Regions from separate parts of the Homo sapiens genome. Here regions 1, 2, 3 and 5 are each linked to region 4. Evidence: promoter capture Hi-C in 16 types of primary human blood cells and fetal thymus (Javierre and others, 2016). All regions are on one chromosome and are shown on one strand. Each heading gives the region's core, a stretch centred on a gene start or on the middle of the fragment in contact. The rest is flanking DNA. Distances are from core to core; before and after follow the strand shown. Region 1 overlaps CTPS2 (CTP synthase 2). Region 2 holds the start of TRAPPC2 (trafficking protein particle complex subunit 2). Region 3 holds the start of S100G (S100 calcium binding protein G). Region 4 holds the start of PIR (pirin). Region 5 has its middle 10 kb from the start of GEMIN8.

What was found. The method cuts DNA at HindIII sites, captures the fragments that hold promoters and counts their contacts. A CHiCAGO score of 5 or more calls a contact.
Region 1: a fragment that was not itself captured here is called in contact with the fragment with the promoter of PIR in region 4 in 7 of 17 cell types (total CD4 T cells, naive CD8 T cells, activated CD4 T cells and 4 more); the score reaches 9.1 in total CD4 T cells.
Region 2: the fragment with the promoter of TRAPPC2 here is called in contact with the fragment with the promoter of PIR in region 4 in 1 of 17 cell types (neutrophils); the score reaches 5.8 in neutrophils.
Region 3: the fragment with the promoter of S100G here is called in contact with the fragment with the promoter of PIR in region 4 in 7 of 17 cell types (naive CD4 T cells, total B cells, total CD4 T cells and 4 more); the score reaches 9.0 in naive CD4 T cells.
Region 5: a contact is called between a fragment that was not itself captured here and the fragment with the promoter of PIR in region 4, in 1 of 17 cell types (neutrophils). The highest score is 6.1, in neutrophils.

Annotation. Positions count from the first base shown.
Region 1 is chrX:16,676,386-16,679,085 of GRCh38, reverse strand. CTPS2 (CTP synthase 2) reads left to right here. Exons shown (of 19, transcript NM_175859.3): 10 at 636-724. Among named protein-coding and RNA genes, the nearest start is that of S100G, 28 kb to the right of the region's middle. The HindIII fragment of the contact is 1,101 bases long and covers 702-1,802 here.
Region 2 is chrX:13,733,227-13,735,926 of GRCh38, reverse strand. TRAPPC2 (trafficking protein particle complex subunit 2) reads left to right here and starts at 1,307. Exons shown (of 6, transcript NM_001011658.4): 1 at 1,307-1,402; 2 at 1,742-1,883. It overlaps OFD1 (OFD1 centriole and centriolar satellite protein), which reads right to left and starts at 1,179. Exons shown (of 23, transcript NM_003611.3): 1 at 844-1,179; 2 at 581-679. The coding sequence starts at 855. RefSeq lists enhancers at 266-837, 606-1,805. The HindIII fragment of the contact is 7,868 bases long and covers 1-2,700 here.
Region 3 is chrX:16,648,765-16,651,464 of GRCh38, reverse strand. It overlaps S100G (S100 calcium binding protein G), which reads right to left and starts at 1,307. Exons shown (of 3, transcript NM_004057.3): 1 at 1,262-1,307; 2 at 324-466. The coding sequence starts at 458. All of the region lies in intron 13 of CTPS2 (CTP synthase 2), which reads left to right. The HindIII fragment of the contact is 12,685 bases long and covers 1-1,512 here.
Region 4 is chrX:15,491,925-15,494,624 of GRCh38, reverse strand. PIR (pirin) reads left to right here and starts at 1,292. Exons shown (of 10, transcript NM_001018109.3): 1 at 1,292-1,435. RefSeq lists enhancers at 876-1,379, 1,380-1,882. The HindIII fragment of the contact is 4,696 bases long and covers 1-2,700 here.
Region 5 is chrX:14,038,583-14,041,282 of GRCh38, reverse strand. No RefSeq gene overlaps it. Among named protein-coding and RNA genes, the nearest start is that of GEMIN8, 10 kb to the right of the region's middle. The HindIII fragment of the contact is 7,534 bases long and covers 1-2,700 here.

The DNA.
Region 1 (2,700 bases), core at 3-2,502, 1.2 Mb before region 4:
GCGCCCGGCCTGCTGGAGATTTCATACCCTTCTCCCCTCCTCTCTTTGTCTCCTGCTGCCTCCCATCACACACGTGCTTATCTTGCTTCTGCTCTCCTCTCGGCTGGCTTCTTGAACATTACCTCCCCAGAGCTCTTCCTTGACGTCAATCCTTCCTGTCTTTCCTCCAGTGTTCAGTTCTAGTGACGTCCTAGTTGCTTTTTTTTTAAATTTTTTTTTGAGACAGTGTCTCACTCTGTCACTCAGGCTGGAATGCAGTGTTACAATCAGGGATCATTGCAGCCCGGACCTCCCAGGCTCAAAGGATCCTCCCACCTCAGCTTCCCAAGTAGCTGGGGCTACAGGCACGTGCCACCCCACGCGGTTGACCCCAAGTTACTTCTGCATCGTTCTCTTCTTTGTCTGTCATAGCCATTATCACAGTATAGTGTGGATGCCCGTTTATCTGGTTTTGTAATCTTTCTGAAAGATTATAAGAGCCGCAAAACAGAGACTGTTTTTCTATCCCTAGTGCCCAGTACAGTGTTTGCATAATAAGTAATTATTGAATAATGTGTCATAGTATTAGATGGCTGCAGTATTTTTGAGTGTTTATTTTTCTTAAATACTCCTTTTATCTGTTGGATGTTTTTTAGTACATAGACTCCATTGATCTGGAGAAGATCACTGAAACCGAGGACCCTGTGAAATTTCATGAAGCTTGGCAGAAGCTATGCAAAGCTGAGTGAGTACCAGGGCCCACGCACACCAGTTAGGATAGGACCATTGTACTTTTTCTGTAATGATTCAGTTTACCCTAATTGCTAATTTTCATGCATTTTGAAAGGTAGTTTGGAGTACTTGTGGTCTTTGCAGGTGATTGTTCCACGATCATACTGCGTTGATTTGAAATGTGCCATGTTAATGCTGGTGGCATGTGCATAGAAATGGTTTTATTTGGGGAGGATGGGGATACTGTGGGAAAGTGTGTTGATTCTCCTGAAGGATGCAGAGGGAAAGTGTGTTGATTCTCCTGGAAGATGCAGAGATGAATCTTACATATGCAAAGTTAAAGTACAAGAATGACAGCTTTTTTTTTCTCTCTCTTTTTACAAAGTGAAAGCAAGTTTATTAGGAAAGTAAAGGAATTAAAGAATGGCTACTCCACAAGCAGAGCAGCCCTGAGGGCTGCTGGTTGCCCCTTTTATGGTTATTTCTTGGTTACATGCTAAAGAAGGGATGAATTATACGTGCCTCCCCCTTTTAGACCTTATAGGGTAACTTCCTGATGTTGCCATGGCATTTGTAAACTGTCATGGCACTGGTGGGAGTGTAGCAGTGAGGATGACCAGAGGTCACTCTCATTGCCATCTTGGTTTTGGTGGCTTTTAGCTGGCTTCTTTACTGCAACCTGTTTTATCAGCAAAGTCTTTATGACCTGTATCTTTTGCTGACCTCCTATCTCATCCTGTGACTTAGAATGCCTAACTATCTGGGAATGCAGTCCAGTAGGTCTCAGCCTTATTCTACCCAGCCCCTATTCAAGATGGAGTTGCTGTGGTTCAATATTTCCCCTCTCCCTTTTATAGGAGAACTCTTAATACTAAGGGTTGCAGAGGGACAAAGCTCCATCTTCTGTAACTTCTTCGTGTTGAATAGGGGCAATGACATTCCTCCCTATTAGAGTCTCTTGTATTTGGGGTAGAGAAGAGGTCAGTCAGAAAGCGTCAGATGGCGAGGGCCATTCATAACTCTGAGTTCCAACAAAAGGTGATATCTGGAAGATTAATAAATGTTTAGTTTAAGAAAACATTGAGTAAGCTTATTCTGCATTCCTACACAAAGAGTACAATAGCAATATATTCCACAACAGTAAAGCAAAAAATTATCCCAAGTAAACTAAATTAGAAGGCTTTCCATGAACTGGGCAACTGTTGGAACCAAGCTGATATGCAGTTGCTAGCTGATTTCAATACATGCCCAGAATTAGAATACTGATCCCAATTTTTACGTTACCCATCCCTCTTGTTTTTTTTTTTTTTTTTTCCGAGACAGAGTCTTGCTCTGTCTCCCAGGCTGGAGTGCAGTGGTGCGATCTCGGCTCACTGCAACCTCCGCCTCCCAGGTTCAAGCAATTCTTCTGCCTCAGCCTCCCAAGTAGCTAGGATTACAGGCACGCGCTACCATGCCTGGCTGATTTTTGTATTCTTAGTAAAGACGGGTTTCACCATGTTGGCCAGGCTGGTCTTGAACTCTTGACCTCGTTATCCACCCGCCTTGGCCTCCCAAAGTGCTGGGATTACAGGTGTGAGCCACCACGCCCAGCCCTGCTCTTGTTTTTTTCTGAGCTGCAGTCACAGATCACTGATTGTTTCACAGGAATAAGCAGGGTCAGTCTAAATTGCAGAAAAAAACTTCAAAAACAACCAATAAGACTAGAATTCATAATAATAACAGTTAGACCATAGTTCTTGAAACATAATTTTTTCTCTCTCCAGTTTCCCATTTTCACTAAAGACAAATCATGGTAAGAACAATTTGCTTTATTATACTTGGCCTGATTATTTGTATAAAGTGCAGCAAGAATAATTATTTTTCAATAGGCTTTTAAAATTGGCTTTGACAGAACCTTATTCCATAAGGAATCTCAGATAAGACCTTTTTTAAAGCTGAGCCCACCCATGGGTTTGTACCCTCAAATACCTATGAATTGGGTAAATT
Region 2 (2,700 bases), core at 58-2,557, 1.8 Mb after region 4:
TATTTTAAACGTAAAATATGCTTTTGAAATGCATATTTCAATGAAAACACGTTGAGCTAATCCTACTCCTGGCTGTTAATCCAAATATAAAGCATACTAATAGGTATTTTCTGCCCAAACTAAACATTCATACATTTCAATATAGTTTAAAGATAAAATTTTTCATTTCCCAAACTATTATTAAGCAGTACACTAGTATTTTCTATATGGTGTCAATGTCCTTCATCCAAATGTATTACAAACCCACTTATTAATTTAGGAACCTATAAGCCATATTTATAAAACAAGCCTAATCTTACTGTGTTCATTATACAAATATTTCCTTCTCCTATCTTATTGTCAGTTCAATTAATTATTTGAATATGCTCCTTTAAGACGACTCAAACTCAACATTTTCTCAAACATTTTCAAGAGACTGTAATGTTTCAGGATACAGAGTTATTCGGGAATATAAAAATGTAATTCACCAATACAATCTATGTATCATACGATTATTAAAACCTAAACCTTGATTGAATTTGAACTACCTGTTACAGGTTACACTTGTAAAAGCTGACACAGATACGCCTAAATCCGATACCTTGAGTGTATCCAGTATACCCCGATCCTTAAACGTCTGGTATAGCTTTTTGCGCAGTTCATCTTGACTCAACACATCAGCCACGGTAAACATGTTGGACTAAAAGACAAAATGGTTATAGGTTACCTGCGGGGCAGAGGGAACGTGAACGTCTGAAAACAGACCAGTGGCCTCCGGGGAAGCCATAAGAGGCCTAGCGGCGAAAGTTTAACGAACACAAAACAAGACTTTATTTCCGCCCGAGAAGGGGCAGGTGTGTCTACCTGCGCCATCATCAGGCGTCAGCTCCCTCCGGAGCCCGCCTCGCTCGCCCCGCCGCGGCCCGAGTTTAGTGCCCAGCCCGGGCGGTGGGGCCAAGACGAGGGGGAATCCCTGCCCTCAGAACCCTGCCTCTGTCCCGAGGGTTCGGGAGGAACAAAGGTGCTGAACGTTCTCTGCCTCGCACTCCCAACTAGGTTTTCTAGCAAACACGCGAGCTTCCTTTCTTCGCGGTTCTGAGGCAAGGGCGAGGACCCAGGCACGACTCAAAGGCGGCTGGAGGGCGGGGACCCAGACACTAGGGACTGAAGGCAGCGAGGCAGGACCGCCTCACAGCCAGTCCGGCAACTTCCGGAAACCTGCTAAATATAGCCTTCCCGAGCTGAAGAGCTACGGCGCATGAGCTTGGTTGCCCAGCACCGGCCGGAAGCTCCGCCTACGTATCGCGAGAGCACATCCCAGGGTATCGCGAGAACTGCTTCGGCGTTCTGGCTACAGGTTCGGGGCGCGGGTCTCTTCCGCGGAAACTGACATTGCGTTTCCGTTGTCGGCCTCCCACTGCAGGTAGGGAATGGAGCAAGTGCGGCGGGGGGCGGGTGTTTTGAGTCCCTGGAGGACTTCGTAGCCCCTGCGTGACGCGGATGTTGGTCCTGTACCTCCACCCCTCCCCGGGGTGGCCGGGCCGGACCTGCCAGCCCTCCGCTGGCTCATCCGCGCAGCCCTTCCACCTGCAGACGTCCGCCCTCTCGGGGGCTGTGGTTTCGCGGTTCACTGGGTCATTCAGCTAACCCAGGGTTTCTTAACGGCTGCACTGTTGCCTTTTGGAGCCGGAAGATTCTTTGTTTTGGGAGGCTGTCCTGTGCATTGTAGGTTTAGCTGTATCCTTGCTCTCTATTTTGTCAGTATCACCTTCTCCCCCAAGTGTGACAACCAAAGATGTCTCCAGATATTGCCAGATGTCCTCTTGGAAGCAAGATCGCTCCGGGTTGAGATCCACAGAGCTAAACGTTTTAGAGTACCAACCATTGTGTGCTGTGAGGTAAAGGTGAGCCAGTCCTCATGATGCTTAAATGTAATTAGAAAGGAAAGGAACCAAACCTCTCAGAAGCGATAATGAAAATGTTACAGCCAGAGAATTGAACAAGAACTAAGATACATTGTAGACTGGATAAAGAGTTTAAAGGGGAGGTGGTTGAAGATGGAAGTGATCCAGATCATCTCTGTGGAAAAAGTGTGTCTTTATCGGGGCCTTGATGGGTAGGATTCGGGTGGTGAGCAAAAAGGAGAACATCACAGGAAGGGGAAAAATGAGCAAAGGAATCATTAAAAGAAAAAAAAAAGCCACGACCTTCTTGGGAGCAGTGAGGAATCTAGCCTGACTCCAGAGTTGTGTGCTGGGAATATAAGCCTTATATGGTATCTAAGTCCTGTGAGGACAGAATTGGATGTCAGCTTTGTGTACAGCATTGAAGATGAGTACGATGAGTTTTGATCTCTGGCTGTGAAAAACTTAAAGTATTTAAGAGGCAGTAAGAGTGACAGGACTTCATAGGAGGTGGAGAACCTGTAAGTTTTTGTTGGAAACAATGGAAAAGGAGGAGAGGCTTAGTTGGATTTTAAAGGATGGGTAGTGGTTGCAGACAGAATAAAGGAGAACATTCCAGGCATGAAGAGAGAAATGATAGTAGCTCTGAACTCGATATAGTCAAAGTGAATTTGGGAGAAAAAATAAGTAAACGAGTCAACGCTAGCAGAGGTGGAACAATAGGGCTGAGAAAAGACACGTGGAGCAATGTGGGAATCTTGAATACTAGTACATGATCCTGTAGCTGAGATGCATCAAAGGCTTTTGAGTGGAATGA
Region 3 (2,700 bases), core at 58-2,557, 1.2 Mb before region 4:
AGTACTGAATCCATGCTGAAGGCCTTATTGGGTTTGCTTGGTGACTTGTGGGTCTTCCAGGCATAACTTGGCATTGCTTCCATTTATTATGGCTAGTCCTGCAGAGTCCTGTGCTGAGGCTGCAGGAGGGATAGAAGGCTTGGCCCTTGTTTTCTGAGAGCTTGCCTTCTGAAATGTGGCCTGACTTAAGGGGAAGAAACCCCACCTGCATGTGTCCTCCCTCAAGCGACGGTCCCTATAAGGCTCTACCGGAGTCCTCTCCCCTCCCTCCCTCCCCTCCCACCATCAGTCCCATTAAGTGGGCTCTGCGGATGGCCACTTACTTTGAGTAAACTGGGGAATTCAGCCTGAATCAATAGCTTCAGTTCATCCTTTGACAACTGGTCTGGATCACCTTCTTTGGCTGCATATTTTTCAAAAATCCTCTTCAGTTCCTCAGGAGACTTTTTAGTACTCATTCTGGTGTCTTATAAATTGGGAAGAAAATAAACTTACCAAAAAGCTGAAGTACAGTTTTGTGCTGAGGGTTGTCTGCAGGATTTTAGTGCCATTGGGCCATTTCCTTGGCATAAATGGGGAAGAATAAGGAAAAGAGAATGTCGGGGTCGGAATGGCACCAGTAACTACTAACATGTTTAAAAAATAAGCATCTTAGGCCAGGCACGGTAGCTCATGCCTGTAATCCCAGCACTTTGGGAGGCCAAGGAGGGTGGATCACTTGAAGTCAGGAGTTCGAGACCATGGAAGCCTGGCCAACATGGTGAGACCCTGTCTCTATACAAAAATTAGCCAGGCGTGGTGGTGCGTGCCTATAGTCCCATCTACTTGGAAGACCGAGGCAGGAGAATCGCTTGAACCCGGGAGGCGGAGGTTGCAGTGAGTGCGATGCCACTGCACTCCAGCCTGGGTGACAGAGCGAGCCTCCGCTGCAAAAAAAAAAAAAAAAAAAAAAAGACATCTTAGATAGTATGTTAAATGTCTGTTCTTAGAGTACATCTGTTAGGAGATGGTCCCTGGAGCCAAACATTTTTATTAGTAATTAATGACATTCTACACTTTTTATGTACCTGATCTGCACTCTGCAGGCTGTGGTCTTGAAGAATACTTGACCACAGCTTCTAGCTTCTAAGTTACAGGGAATATCTCCAGATGGCATAAACTCACCTTCTCTCCAGACCATTATCTTTCACACCATTCTAAAAGGAAGCAGAGTATTAATGCAAACAGAAGGAGCTCTAGGTAGTACCAAAATCACACTAACCTGGTTGCCCAATAGTGAAACAGCTAGAAGAATCAAAGAGGAGTTTGAAGAGCTGAGCAGAATCATGACACTTTTATAGTCTTTACGGGCACGCCACCCTGATTATGAAAATTTCCTTTTGTTGGCCATTTAAGGGTAATTATTAATGGTTTTTGAAACTCAGGCTTAAGACTGCATGAACCCCATAATTAAGGGCAAGATCCAGTAAAGGTCCATCTCGACAGTTGCTTCATGGTTCAGAGTCGTAAGCTTGGATTTTTTTCCCCCTGAGATTATATTTTCCCTCCAATGTAGAATTATATTTGCTCACAGTTCACATTTCATAAAGCTTAGATATAGAGGATTCTTTTCAATTTAGTTGCATATTTAGGCTTTAAAAAATAACTTTCTTCATATCCAGAAAAAATAAATGCTGCCCTGTGCGGTAGCTCATGCCTGTAATCCCAGCACTTTGGGAGGCCGAGGCAGGAGGATTGCTTGAGGTGAGGAGTTTGATACCAGCCTGGTCAACACAGCAAGACATTTCTACTGAAAAATTTAAAAAATCAGCCAGGTGTGATGGTACATGCCTGTAGTCCCAGCTACTGTAGAGGCTGAGGTGGGAGGATTCCTTAAGCCTGGGAGGTTGAGGCAACAGTGAGCCATGATTGTGCCACTGCACTCCAGCCTGGGTGACAGAGTGAGATCCTGTCTGTAAAAAAGAAAAAATGCTGTCATAGAAGGACAATATTACATAGTTTAAAAAATTACGGTATGGCCATTGAAGTCCTTCTGATGTCTTTACATATTAGCAGCTTAAATATTTGAATACATGAATGAATGAATGGAAGTATTGCTTCAGAAGCAGGTTTAAGAAGTGGAAAGAAGATACTCAGTAATTTGTGGTTTTATTTGGCAAATCAATATTGAGTAACATGGTCATTTTTTCAGCTCTTTCATTATTTGTTGGTCCTGTGTCTGCTTTTTATTTCTCATTATCCTTTTCCTTACCAAATATATTTCGTGATCATTCGAAAAACTTGTGAGAACACTCGACTTACTCTTGTTCAGTTGGAAATACTTCAAACTTTTTGTAACTGCCATGATTTAAAATTGCCAAGGAGATTGATTTCTACTGGAAAGAGTTCCATGAAATAAGTAGGACATTTCCAAGGGACATTGATCTAATGCTGATTGTAACTCACAGGAAGGGGTTCCAGGTGGATTTTAAGAGCACTTTACAGCTTTGAAACACTTGTACACTTCCACACTTATAGAATTTTCCCTGACTCTGCCTTATATCACCTACAAACTGAGGACTGGACTATTGGGACTGTATTTCTCCCTGATGTTTCTCAGCTCTAAAATTCTAGGGCCTTATTTACATTGGAGAACAAATGGGAAATCTAATAGAATTCCTTAAAAGCTTCCCGCCAGTCTTGAGCATTTATCATTCCATG
Region 4 (2,700 bases), core at 43-2,542:
GCTAGCCTTGAACTGCCTAAGTAAGGTGATGAGGACGGGTTTAAGCCCCACTGATATTTTAAAAGCCCAGAGAAAAGTGTTCGTTCCTCTACTAACCTGTTCTTTTAGAGCAGGGATCTGCATACTAGGCCTGCAGCCAAAATGAGTAGGTAGCCCACTACCTATTTTTGTATAGCCAGAGGGCTAAGAATGGTTTTTACATTTTAAGTGGTTTTACATTTAAGATCAAAAGAAGGATAATATTTCATGACAAGTAAAAATTATATGAACTCAAAATTGTATGAATTTTATGAATTTATATTTCAGTATTCATAATTAAAGTTTTATTGAACTACAGCCACATTCATTTATTTACATGTTATCTATGGCTGCTTTCTTGCTACAAAGGCAAACTGGAGAATGTACATGGCCTGCAAAGTCAAAGTATTTACTATCTGGTCCTTCACAGACAAAGTTTTCCAACCTTATTTTAGAGACACCACTGTCTTTCCTTTCTCAAAACCAGGCAATGAGCCTTCTGGTGTTTAGAGAATAGAAACTGCAGCTATGCCTGTACCACTAGTTAATAATCCTAGTAATCAACTAGATCCCCTCACTGGCTTGTGCCAGCTCCTCATTCTTCTGGAAAAACTCTCCAACGCCTGCCCACTGTGTTCCAACACCATACAAACTCTTAACCAATTATCTCCCCACTAGAGTGTGCCTTCTCTTCAGGCAGGAATAAAGACGTATGGCTGCCCGTCCCCACTCCCGCACTCCTTTTCTCGCAATTCTAACTGACAAACAGCAGGCAACTTATCTATGGAACAAACGATTCTGTAGTGCTTAGAATGTGACAGGCTCATTTAATTCTCATTTCAGCCCGATAAGGCTGGCACTATTATCATCACCATCCTCATTTTATAGAGGAGGAACCAGAGGCACAGAGAGACTGAGCCACCTGTCCCAGGTCATGTCAAGTGGTGCCTCCCAGCGGTGGAGGCAGCACTGGAATCCGTGCCGCCAAGCTCCGCCGGCTGGGTGACAGGGAGACTACAGTTAAAAACAGATTTCCCACAAGACCGACCGGAGCGCCGATCAGAGCACCTGCCCGGGCCACACATTTCCTCCTGGAGCACAGCAAGTGCCGCCTAAATTACCCGAGTGAGCATCTCTTCCCGGCACGAGAGGCAGGGAGGCCAAAGGGCCGCCAAGCTGGCCTGGGAGAGGCGTAGGGCGGAGCGAGAGTGGAGTGACATTCCCGAGGGCGGAGCCCCAGGGCCTCCGAGACCCGTAGACTCCCGCCTCCCGCCTCCTCTAGGCCGCCGGCCGCGAAGCGCTGAGTCACGGTGAGGCTACTGGACCCACACTCTCTTAACCTGCCCTCCCTGCACTCGCTCCCGGCGGCTCTTCGCGTCACCCCCGCCGCTAAGGCTCCAGGTGCCGCTACCGCAGCGTGAGTACCTGGGGCTCCTGCAGGGGTCCACTAGGTGAGGGAATGCTGGCGGTCAGTTTGCAAAATCCTGCCTTCCCCAGCTCACTTTAGACTCCTAGGGGAGATAACAAGAGATACTTAAATTGTACTACGAAATTTGGTGAAAATGGTAGACGGCTTTTCTTTCTGCAAAGCACTGAGATCTAAGTACCTCATCAGTTGTTCACATGCATACAATTTAATCGTAGGAGTCTGGAAGGACCCAGACATAATCTAGATGGGGATAAAGATACTTTCTGGTTGCTTCGATGTAGGTGATGACCGGCCTGTACTGCTTTGAGTATTAAGCTCGTTTCTGCGCCTTGCAACCTATCACCCAATAAATATTTATCGATTACTATTCAGGGAGGATACATTTTAGGGTAGGCCTTGACTAAGTGGAGGGTATTGTGGAGTAGAGCCCTTCTGAATAACAGCAGCTAACATTCTCATAGCACTAACTGCACCCCTTTGAGGTAGGCGGTCTTATCATTCCATTTTACAGATAAAACTGAGCCACAGAAAACCTCAGGTCACACAGCTGATATGTGGTGAAGCTGAGATGCAAACCTAGGCTGTCTGGTTCCAGAGTCTGCTTTTTGCCAAAGCACCTCTCTTCGTTTCAGTAGGAATCTTTGAAGGAATTGGGTATATTTCACTTGAAGAAAAGATTTAAGGGATTGGGGGTACTGTCTGCAAACACTTGAAGTGGAATAGGGATAGATTATATTCCTTCTGGGATAGTCCATTAGAACCTAGACCTCCCAAAGAGGAAAAGACTTTCGAATAACAAACTCTGGCTATAGGTAAGTCCTGAAATATGAGATACATTGCCAAGAACAGCTGGTCCATGACTTGCCTATGCTCTAGGAGACTTCATGAGTAAGCTGAAAGATTTCTTGCCCAAAATGTTGGCCCTGAACTTCAGGAATAGATGGGTCTTTGAATTCAATGACCCTCGAAGATCTCTTTTAATGCCAAGATCTTCAGCATGTTCTGGTAAGAGTTAGGGACCTCTTTGTTTTTCTCCATTTTCTCTAAGGCGCCACACAAACCTGCCCCCATCTGTCAGCCTCATTGGTAGCAACTACCTCATGGGTGCTACCAGTGAGGCTGACAGATGAGTGGCACTGGGGAAGGGGTGGGAGATCGAGAGAATTCAGTGAAGTAAGAAAGACAAAGTGTTCATTGGAGATTTTTAGTAAGGGGCCAACAGAGCTGCTAAAGTCATGCTTCACTTAACGATG
Region 5 (2,700 bases), core at 178-2,677, 1.5 Mb after region 4:
TGTAAAAATAAGAACCAAGGAATCAAAACTCAAAAGAGATTTGATCATGCCATGTAGAGGCAAATAACCCTATATTTGTATTGCTCATTGCATTCTAGTGTGGGAGAGAAATTGACATTCATCATGGTAAGCCTGAGATATAAAGACAAGAATAAAATGTGCTCAGGAAACTGTTGGAGAAGACAGGAAAGTACACAATAGATTTTAGAAAGATTTCTAGTCAAAATGGTTTTGTTGTTGTTGTTTTTGTGTTTAGAGGAGTAAACATCAGTTAATGGGGAAAAGAAGATTCATAAGTCATTTAAATAGGCCACTTCTTTCCTAACAGACTGGACAAATTGGGCATTACTGTATTTCAAACAAAGCACGAAAAATCTCTTTAGAAGTGTCTCATTCTACAAATATACTATAACCGCAATAATGTGATTTAGGAGGGAAAGAGAGAGACACACACACAAAGACTGCTACTAACTCCTGGACAGGTTAGAAGTTATTACCATTCCATCTTTCTTGCCATTGTTCCCCAACCACATATATTCTCAACTTTTACATAGCTATTAGCATAATATATGATTTATTTTGCTTTGACTTGACTTATCATTCATCACATACTTTCCATGTGCCTATATAATATTCATAATTTTCATTTTGATGGCTGCCTAATAGTCCATGTTCCTAAATTGCTTTCAATTTTACCAATTATCAATAAACAATACTGCAATAAACACCTTCACATATACAGCTATTCTGTCCTTGTGTAGTTTTGGATTACTATCAAACAATAAATTCACCAAAGTGAAATTAGAAATATATCTAAATTAAGAAATGTATTTGAACAGTGACTTGCTTTACGAGGTTGTGGTGAAAATGAGGTTGTAATACCAGTCAAAGCCCTCCTCCCCAGATTAGCAGAAATTTAACTCCTCACTTGACTCTCCCCCACTTCCCTGAATTGCCCAAGAACCCAGAGATTCATTCAGTCAAACTCTTAGCAGAGGGAAAACTAGAGAATCTGACCACCGTCCAGTGGACACTTCTTGACGCCTGCTGTTGCTTCAGTTACTCAGTTACTCCTGTCCTATGGCACATGCATCTAATGAGTGGATATCATGGCTCTTAAACCATGAACTCACAACACCCATGTGTGAAGAGGGCCCCGTGGGCATCATTGTTCCTCTACTAACAGATGAAGATAGGCAGGCTCTGAGAAGTAGTGACACAACCAGGAAGGGACAAAGACAGACCTTCCATCCCTCGGACAGGGATTCATCCATTTCACCGTGCAAGCTCATCATGTACAAGATCCATGCCAAGAAAAATCTGACAGTATACAGGGACAGGACCTGATTTTTTTTCTTAATGTAGAAGGGTGATTCTGCACAGTATATGTAGTTGTGCTTCTATGTCAATGACCCATAAAATATCTTGTGAGGACAGAAAACATAACATACGTAAAATTATGCTCTAAAAAAGCCTTACACATTGTTGGCCTCAAATTATTTTAGCCAGTTGAAATGAAAATTATTTAGAGATTAATTTTAACCTAATTCGGATTTTGTTGAAGATGTAGTAACTTTAAAAACAATGTGAAAGAATAGAGCTGGAAACGCAGTAGTGAAATATCATCTAAAAACAATACACTATTGAATTTTAGATGTATAGAGTCATTTACATGTGACTGACATGTGTCACTACAGCCTATGACTGAGAGATTAATGCACTTCCTTTTAAAAGCATTTCTCCAATACTTTGTACAATTGTGCCCTCTGCCGGATGCACATGGGTATTATTTTACAGGGCTATACATAGGAAACAATGCTTTATAATCACATCTTTTTAAAGTAAAACTTTTCAATACTTGAATTCTGTGTATATTTCAGCAATTAGTTGGTTCTATCCCACACAAACTTCCTAATCCTCTTTTTAAATTACTGATAATCTCATTTACAGAAATCAAAACATTGTTAAAGATTAGCTCAGTACTGTTTAGTGCTGTCAGCTGAGTAAATTGTTACTTCTCAAAAAAGAACTCATAACTAAATATAAATATGGATAAATCTCTTGAAAGTTTCTCATATCTCAATAAAATGCATAATGAAACCATTTATTATCATATTTAAGTTTACAAATATCCACCCAATTATTGTCTCATTTCGTTTCATTATTTAAAAATATTTATTCCCATGTAGCATACTGGATTTCAATGATACACAACAAAATAATATGTGGTCTCAATTCTCAAGAATTTTATTATTAAATGGAAAATGGTGAGAAGTAAATGAACAACTGCAGAGTAGCACATGCCATGAACACTGGGATGTTCCAGATTCCCCTTCAATGAGGAACTTGCGGCTCCAGTCACAGAGAGCCTCCTTACGCAATGTCACACCCCTTTTCAGGAGCCCACATCCAATGACTGATCCATGCTGGAGAAAAAAGTGCCCACCATATCAGCCCAACTTTCTACAACTCAGAAGGGCCATTCTGGCTCCCTAAATCCCCTGGGGTTTACCACAGTTGTTAGGCACACATTCAAGCTCAGCCCTTCTCTCTACCCCAGTGGTTTTCAACTGAGGGCAATTTGCTATCCCCTCCTTCCCCACCACCAGCATATTTTGCAATGTCTGAAAACACTTTTGGTCATCACAACTGAAGGGGAGGGAGGTGTGTATGTGTGCTACTGGCATCTAGTGGGTAGAG